2 separate regions of the Homo sapiens genome follow, and region 1 is linked to region 2. The links are contacts of gene promoters, found by promoter capture Hi-C in blood cells and fetal thymus (Javierre and others, 2016). All regions are on one chromosome and are shown on one strand. The core of a region is centred on a gene start or on the middle of the fragment in contact, and the rest is flanking DNA. Distances in the headings are between cores, read along the strand shown.

Region 1 (4,170 bases), core at 962-3,461, 1.5 Mb after region 2:
GGGTAGTTTTTGAGGCAGCTTTTGGAAGTAATTTTGACATGTGAAATTTGGGTCTTCTGAACAAATTTTAAGTTTTGCTACACTGATGTGTTAATGGCTGTAAGTTTACCTCTGATGCTGAGTATGCTAAATTTTTTTCCCTTTTTTGACTATCCTTTTGTGAGGCTGCATTTTAATTCCTCATGTGAACAGTCTTTCACAGGCAGTTAGGTTTCAGGTTTAAAAAACTCATTTACCACAGGTATAATTTTGAGTCTGTTTATTTTGATGGGAAAAATTTTAAATACTCCTTTTTTCCCCCCTGCAGAACATCCAGTCATGGATAAAAATGAGCTGGTTCAGAAGGCCAAACTGGCCGAGCAGGCTGAGCGATATGATGACATGGCAGCCTGCATGAAGTCTGTAACTGAGCAAGGAGCTGAATTATCCAATGAGGAGAGGAATCTTCTCTCAGTTGCTTATAAAAATGTTGTAGGAGCCCGTAGGTCATCTTGGAGGGTCGTCTCAAGTATTGAACAAAAGACGGAAGGTGCTGAGAAAAAACAGCAGATGGCTCGAGAATACAGAGAGAAAATTGAGACGGAGCTAAGAGATATCTGCAATGATGTACTGGTGAGAATCAATTCAGTCTGGCTTCATTATACTGTAGGGTCCCTATGAGTATCAGTTACATTACTCTTAACTTTTTGTTTGGTTTTTCTTTTCCTTCTAAACATTGTGTGTTCCAAATTTAAAAGTCTTCATGGTGTCATGACTAAAAAGATGTTAAGACAATTATAGATACGTGTATGTAAAATAATTGCAACAATGATTATGAAACAGTTCAGTTTTGTTAAAAATAACAGACTTTAGTATTGTATTTTATATTAATTGAAAATATAAACTAATTGTGTTACTGTTTTACTTATGGTTAGAATATTTGTAGTAGCTCTATAGCTGGTTATCTTAAATGTACATCTGTGGATAAAGGAATTTTACATACTTTAGGTAAGAGAGATGTAATAGGATACTCATTGTAGAAATAGTACTCTTCTCAGGATTAGCCGCTATAATGTTAATGTAATGAGTCAACCATGCAGAAAACTCTGGCGTCACAACTATGAAACCTCTTCCTGCATTGAATTCTTGAAGGTAAATTTTGAACACTCACAACCATGATGAAAGGTTATGAACAACTCAAGCTTGATTTTCCAGTTTGAATCGAGTATTTTAAGTATTCAGTACTTACTGTGTTGAAGCACTGCGCTTAAAAGAATTAAACTACATTTTGGTTAATTTTAATCTGTCATATAAAGTAGGGCTTTTTGATCAAGAATAGTTTAAATTTGAGGATAAACCAGTAGAGAATCCAACCAAGCTGGCAGTTTTTGGAATAATATTTAAAGTGGTTTTACTAAATGGTTACACTTAACCAGTATGGAAGGGCTCTGATATACAAAGAGGGGCAGCATCTCGATTTTTCTGGACAGATTACTGAATCTGGAACTCAGTATGGAAATCCAGGTTTGTTACTTACTATATGAACCTTGTTTATGGAAGAAGTGCTATAATGAGCAATAGGATAATGTCTGATGTGGTTGTGGGTTTGGGGTTTTTGTTAAAGTTGTGATGATACTATCATTTCTTTACATTTGTATTTACTAATGGAATAGCATCAGTTCCTAAACTGTAATTTTCTCAAATGATACTTACTTGACACTGTCTTTTTAAAGAATAGTGATTTTTTAAACATGCTTATTTGGGTTCACAGCCACAAACTCAATGAGGCATCTGTCTTGGGGCATTTTTTTGTTCTTTGCTTATTGAAACCTTTAGAATGATAGCTACTATTTGTATCTAAGTTGAAAAAAGGAATATCTTGCTTTTATTGGGGCCAAGTGACAAATGTCTGTTTTGTGATTTTGCTAAGGTAATAAGAATATTTAAATTTTGTTTTTTGTTTTTTTTTTTTTTTGAGACGGAGTCTTGCTCTGTTGCCCAGGCTGGAGTGCAGTGGCGCGATCTCGGCTCACTGCAAGCTCCGCCTCCCGGGTTCACGCCATTCTCCTGCCTCAGCCTCCCGAATAGCTGAGACTACAGGCGCCTGCCACTGCGCCCGGCTAATTTTTTTGTATTTTTAGTAGAGACGGGGTTTCACCATGTTAGCCAGGATGGTCTCGATCTCCTGACCTCGTGATCCGCCCTCCTCAGCCTCCCAAAGTGCTGGGATTACAGGCTTGAGCCACCGCGCCCGGCCAAATATTTAAATTTTGAAAATGTGATTTTTTTTTTCTATAATAAAAAATGTATTGGGTTTTTTTGTTTTTTTTGTTTTTTTTTTTTGCTCACCTTACTAACTAATATCTGTGTATGTGTAATTCAGTTTTGTTCAGTCTGGAGTGTTTTTCCCAATTATTACACCTGATCGAAAAGTTTTTATTTTGGCTTCAAAGGGTGTGTTACACATTAACATTTCCCTTAAGACAAAAGTCAATTTTAGGAATAAAAAGGAATGTAACATTTACCTTTTACTAACACGCTTATTTGCAATACCAGGTAGGTATGTGCATGTTTTCCATATACAAAGTATAAAAGTTCCTGTCATTGTGAGTCTTTTCCAAGGAAAAGACTTGTAGCAGGTTTGTTTTTTGTGTATGTTTGTTTGTTTGTTTGTTTTGAGACTGAGTTTTGCTCTTGTCACCCAGGCTGGAGTGCAATGGCACCATCTCAGCTCACTGCAACTTCCGCCTCCCGTGTTCAAGCAATTCTTCTGCCTTGACCTCCCGAGTAGCTGGGATTACTGGGCGTGCACCAGCACGCCCAGCTAATTTTTGTACTTTTAGTAAAGATGGGGTTTCACCTTGTCGGCCAGGCTGGTGACCAGGTCACGTCTAACTCTTGACCTCAGGTGATCCACTCGCCTTGGCCTCCCAAAGTGCTGGGATTACAGGAGTGAGCCACCACGTCCAGCCCAACTTGTAGCAGTTTTGACTATGCTTCCCTTTAGTTTCCTTATGAAGAAACTTTGTTTGCATAGAACCAGTAGATGAGGATAACAAGATAATCTCTTCATATAAATAGTTTCTTCTTGTTATGATTATTAAGGAAGTTCACTCTGGTCCCTACCCACATCGTTACCCTCCAGAATAGCACTGGCTTCCCAAAAAGTTTTAATGGTATTTACACTTTGAAAGTTTGGATAAATGAGAGTTTAATTTCTTTACTATACAAATGGCTTTGAAGAGAATTCTAAACAAGCTTTTGCTTCCAGCCTTGGTCTTTTCAGGAGTAAGACTTAGTGATCTTTGCATACTCAACGTGTAATAGATGCTCAAATATTTGTTAAACAAGCAGAAAGGCTTCTTTAGAGAAAGAGCATAGAATTAGGTCAGCAGCACTGCAAAATTTCCCTAGCTTTTTCTTTTTCTGCTTGGGAAAATTTGATATTTACCGATAATAGGCTTCTTTTTCCTACCATCTTTTTCAAATAGGTCACATCGACTCTGGAAACATATTGCATAAAATTCCTTCTGCCCTTTCTGTGAGATGGAAGAATAAAATGTAGCAGAACTGATATTTCTACTAGAAAAAGTTATTGAATCATTATTAATGATTAGTAAAAATATTTTAAATTATATTTTTAAGATCTTACATGATAAAAAATCAATTATAATTTTTTATTACTCCAGCCTTTTCTGGGCTTTGATATATATATTTTTTAATTTGAGAAAAATAAGCAGGTGTCCCTTTGCAGAAATAATAGTATTGGCTTGTGGCATTAGTGATAACCAGATTTTTTATATTGAGCACCTATTTTATAATAGCTATGAAAATAAACTTTCTTCCTACAAAAAGCAGCTAATCTCCAAAGTTCTGAGTTTTTCTGAAGAGCTCTTTAGTAACCCATTCTGGTTATATGTATTTATCTATTGTTTAACCATTTAATAAGCAAAGAGCTTGGACCATGTTGCATATTACAAGAGTAAATAGAGCATTATGGCGGGAAGTGGTCACTGGCATGCTCTTCACAATGTGGACTTTGCATTATGTAAAAGAACTTGGGTTTCTTCTCTTCCACGTGTTAATTTCAAACTGCAATATGTGAACTAATGCAATCTGCCTTTCCTGCCAGATGCTTAGACAAAAGCTCTCTTGGTAGTTGGGGAGGGACTCAACACTAGTACCTCTTTA
Region 2 (3,949 bases), core at 419-2,918:
AGGGTACCAGGTCTGTCCTGATTTGTAAGTATTTTTTCATAAATTTTGCTCAGAAGAACTTCCTAAGCAAAACTGTGTGTGTGTGTGTGTAATTCATTAACAGACCACCTCTGTAGAAGGAATGTCATGTTCTCAGTTTTTGCCTTCGAAGAGGTACTTTATTTTTTAAAGGAGGTCATAGAAACCTTTGAGAAGAAAGTCATGAATTGGTTCCTTAGGGAAAAAAAAACAGACTTATTTGATTAAAAAAAATTTTTTTTTGAGATGGAGTCTCGTTCTGTTGCCCGGGCTGGAGTGCAGTGGCATGATCTCAGCTCACTGCAACTTGCCAGGTTCAAGCAAGTCTTCTGCCTCAGCTTCCTGAGTAGTGGGGTTTACAGGCGCGCACAGCCATGCCTGGCTAATTTTTGCATTTTTAGTAGAGATGGGGTTTCACCAAGTTGGCTAGGCTGGTCTCGAACTCCCAACCTCAGGTGATCCGACATCCTCGGCCTTCCAAAGTGCTGGGATTACAGGCGTGAGCCACTGTGCGCCGTGGCCAAAACTCTGAAAGTGTCTTATAGTAGAAACTCGGTATAAAAGATCCTATCTCGGCCAGGCGTGGTGGCTCAGGCCTGTAATCCCAGCACTTTGGGAGGCCGAGGCGGGTGGATCACCTGAGGTCAGGAGTTCGAGACCAGCCTGGCCAACATGGTGAAACCACATCTCTACTAAAAAAGAAATACAAAATTAGCCGGACGTGGTGACACATGCCTGTAATCCCAGCTACTCCATAGACTGAGACAGGAAAATCGCTTGAACCCGGGAGGCGGAGGTTGAGGTGAGCCGAGACCGCGCCATTGCACTCCAGCCTGGGCAACAAGAGCGAAACTCCGTCTCGGGGAAAAAAAAAAAAAAAATAATAATTTTCCGTTCTGATTCCACTGATCATAAATTGAACTCCTTTGTAGAACAGGTTTATCATCTTTCATTTAAAAGTAATAAAAAATCACGAATCATTTATATCAGGAAATTAGTGGAAATTTCCACATTTTGTCTTTGGGCATGTGATGGTGGTGAGGAAACTGGGGAGACCGAGGTAATAGAAGTTGCTGCAAAGCCAACTCCAGGATCCTACTATCTCCTTCTGGAAAGGCCCTTACATAATTTCCTTACTTTTCCAATAAAAGGCTGTATATGTCTTGCCCCTTAACTGATTTTACCAACTTCACCATAAATACAACTGCGGATGAAGGATGAGAAGCAACAAGAAACCCCTAAGGATCCGCCAAATAATTAGGGCTGCCCCAGGGGAATCCGAGCGAAAGAACACAAGAGCCCCTCTTCCTCCTCGCCTCCTCTGGGACACACACTTACCCTCCCTCCCGGCAGGTTAGCCCGCAGCCTCCTCCTTCCCTAACACGTGCTCTCCGGAACACTCACTCTGGAGACATCCCACCCCCGGCGGGGCTGGGCTCGGGAGCCGAACGGACCAATCGGCACGCGCCTTACAGCGTCGTGGCCCGACAACGTTGAGCAGCCCAATCGAGGGGGCCTTGCCGCCCGTTTCCCGGAGCCCCGCCTCTCGCCGCCGCGCCCCCGCCCGCCGGTCTCCTCCCTCCTCCTCCTCCCGTTTGCCCCTCCCCCGCCGCTCCGGAGCGGAGCCTGCGAGACGGAGAAACTGGGGCAGAAGTGAAGATGGCGGCGGCAGCTTCTCGCTAGTGACGCGCGGTGCGGGCTCATCTCCTTCCCCTCCTTCCTCACCTCCCCTAGTCCGGACCCCGTCCGCCGCCGGGACCAGACCGTCCCCGTAGCCCGCAGCCAGCAGCCGCCCCTCTCCTCCCCCGGCCGCCCCTCTCCCAACGCCCGTCTGCCGCTGGCCGGCGGCGCGCCCCTGGTCCCGGCCGCCTGCCTCGCACTCCGCGCTGTCGCCGGGGGAGCGGGTGGCGTGTGGATTCGCCCTCCTGCCCGCCCCTCCGGGCCGCGGACACACGCCCGGCAGGGAGGCGGCGGCGGCCCCTGCGTATTTGCTTCCCTCCATTTGGGGACTGGGAGGCGGCGGCGGCTGTGGGTTTTGGGGAGGGGTAGAGGGCTGGGGGGCGGGCGAGAGCGGGAGGGGGCCGCCCTCGAGTGGAGGACGAGAAGGAAAGCACCATGACGTCCATCCATTTCGTGGTTCACCCGCTGCCGGGCACCGAGGACCAGCTCAATGACAGGTAATAGGGCTGGCGGGTCGGCGGGCGCGGGGGGAGGGGCGCCCTTCCCTCCCTCCCCTCCCCCACGGGCCGTGCCGGGCGGGTGCGGGTGTTTACGCGCCGGCCGGCCAGCTGGGGTGGGGTGCGGGGGTCCTTACTGCCTCCTGCTAGGCTCCTTCCGGGGCAAACTTCTCATCCCGGGGGCAGGGGGCCGCGGGGGGAGCGCGGTGTAGACGGGACTCGCGGTGTAGACTGGAGAGCGCTCTGTAAACCCCCTTCCCCCTCCCGCAAGGAGCGGCGTTGAACTCGGCGGAGATGGGGGGGTGGTTTCTGGCTCCCGGGGGGCAGGCGGTAATTACTGCCCGGCCAAGGCCCGAGGAATCCATATTAGTCAAAGTTGAATTGAGACAGACAATGCGGATGGGGGATGGTGGAGGTAAAAAGAGAGGGAAGAGGAGAAGCGGGGCCAGGGGCCCCGGGGTGGGCTGGGCTGGGCTTGTCCCGGGCCCCCGGCAGCTGTGTCCGGTGGGGTGGTCTGGACCTGGGGATCCCGGGGTCGGGTTGGGGAGAGAAGCCGATTCCCGGCAGATTGCTGGGAGCGGGCGGGGGGTGGGGGGAAGGTGATAGTTGGGGGAGGGAGTGAGGGAGGAAGCGCCATGATTATTGTTATTATTATTAAATTTGAGCCCCTGCAGTGAGGTTTGCCTGCCCCGGGAGGGGATGGATTCAAGCGGGGGTGGGGAAGTGCATTGGATTCCCTTTACTCTCCTCCTGAAATGGTGCTGGCAGCTCCTGCTACTAGCCCCTGTGGTGCGAGCTTTTTTGTTTCCTTTTCTATTCTAATGATAGTGTTTTCCTGAGTTGTAATTTGACAGCTGAAAACCGTGCGTAGAGTGTCAAAGGAAAACTCTTACGTTTGCAGTTCGCAATGCTGCTTTTCTTAACACGCTGTAAATTTCTGGGTTGGGTTTGCTATGGGCGGAGGATGAATTATGATTTTATTTTATGTTTTGTCTTTTATAGGCTGTTTTGGTTTGGATTTCTCCTTTTCTTCCGCCACCGTTCCTTGCCAGTTTAGGATATTGAATTGCAGTGCCGCATGCTCTCAGGGAACTGAGATAAGGCAGGAAAAGTTCCTTCACTGTTGGAAAACAGACTCAGGAGGTTGAGGGAGGCCTCCATTAAAGCATGTCTTAGAATCTAAGACTCAGATCTAATGATGGGCTAAATGTTTACAGGATCACAAAGTGGAGCATTTTAAGTCTTCCTCTCTCCCAGTACTTCACTGCTCTCTACATTTCTTTTGCGTATAGAAGGCCATCTGGTCCCAAGTTTAGAAGTTACATAGAATTTTTGCTAAGTGACCGGGTGACTTAAGTTGCATGATGCCCTGTTTGTCATGCGCTTCCCAGAGGGAGGAAGAGGCCTAACTTGCTGCTGAGATACTGGCCTCTTGTGTCAGTGTATCTAACCGCCTCAAGTGGAGCAGACAGCTTTTAAATCCAGAGCTGGCGGTTTAGTTTCTGCACTTGGTTCGGATTTGCCTAATCTTTGCTGTAGCCATATTGTATTTAACATGTTTGGGAATCTTTTGAAATACTTACTGAAAATACTAACTACTCAGAGTTGTCACATAGTTCCTTTAAATTCTGAAATAACTTTTTAGTTATTTAACATTTTGTTATGTGGTTCTTAGCCTGACTTTACTTCATTAAAGATCTTTTGGAGACATTAACATAAAATTTTTTGGTAAAATTTAGAAACAGGCTAGTAGT

Evidence for each region. Contacts are between HindIII fragments. The CHiCAGO score rates a contact against its expected background, and 5 or more counts as called.
Region 1: a fragment that was not itself captured here is called in contact with the fragment with the promoter of UBR5 in region 2 in 1 of 17 cell types (fetal thymus); the score reaches 7.7 in fetal thymus.

The regions. Positions count from the first base shown.
Region 1 is chr8:100,945,038-100,949,207 of GRCh38, reverse strand. It overlaps YWHAZ (tyrosine 3-monooxygenase/tryptophan 5-monooxygenase activation protein zeta), which reads left to right. Exons shown (of 6, transcript NM_145690.3): 2 at 308-612. The coding sequence starts at 319. Among named protein-coding and RNA genes, the nearest start is that of YWHAZ, 4.9 kb to the left of the region's middle. The HindIII fragment of the contact is 2,056 bases long and covers 1,184-3,239 here.
Region 2 is chr8:102,410,419-102,414,367 of GRCh38, reverse strand. UBR5 (ubiquitin protein ligase E3 component n-recognin 5) reads left to right here and starts at 1,668. Exons shown (of 59, transcript NM_015902.6): 1 at 1,668-2,195. The coding sequence starts at 2,134. LOC105375683 (a long non-coding RNA gene) reads right to left here and starts at 2,029. Exons shown (of 5, transcript NR_168428.1): 1 at 1,357-2,029. RefSeq lists enhancers at 254-303, 404-513, 1,075-1,344, 1,719-2,497, 2,498-3,276 and 2 more and silencers at 1,495-1,694, 1,725-1,804, 1,865-2,304. The HindIII fragment of the contact is 11,584 bases long and covers 1-3,949 here.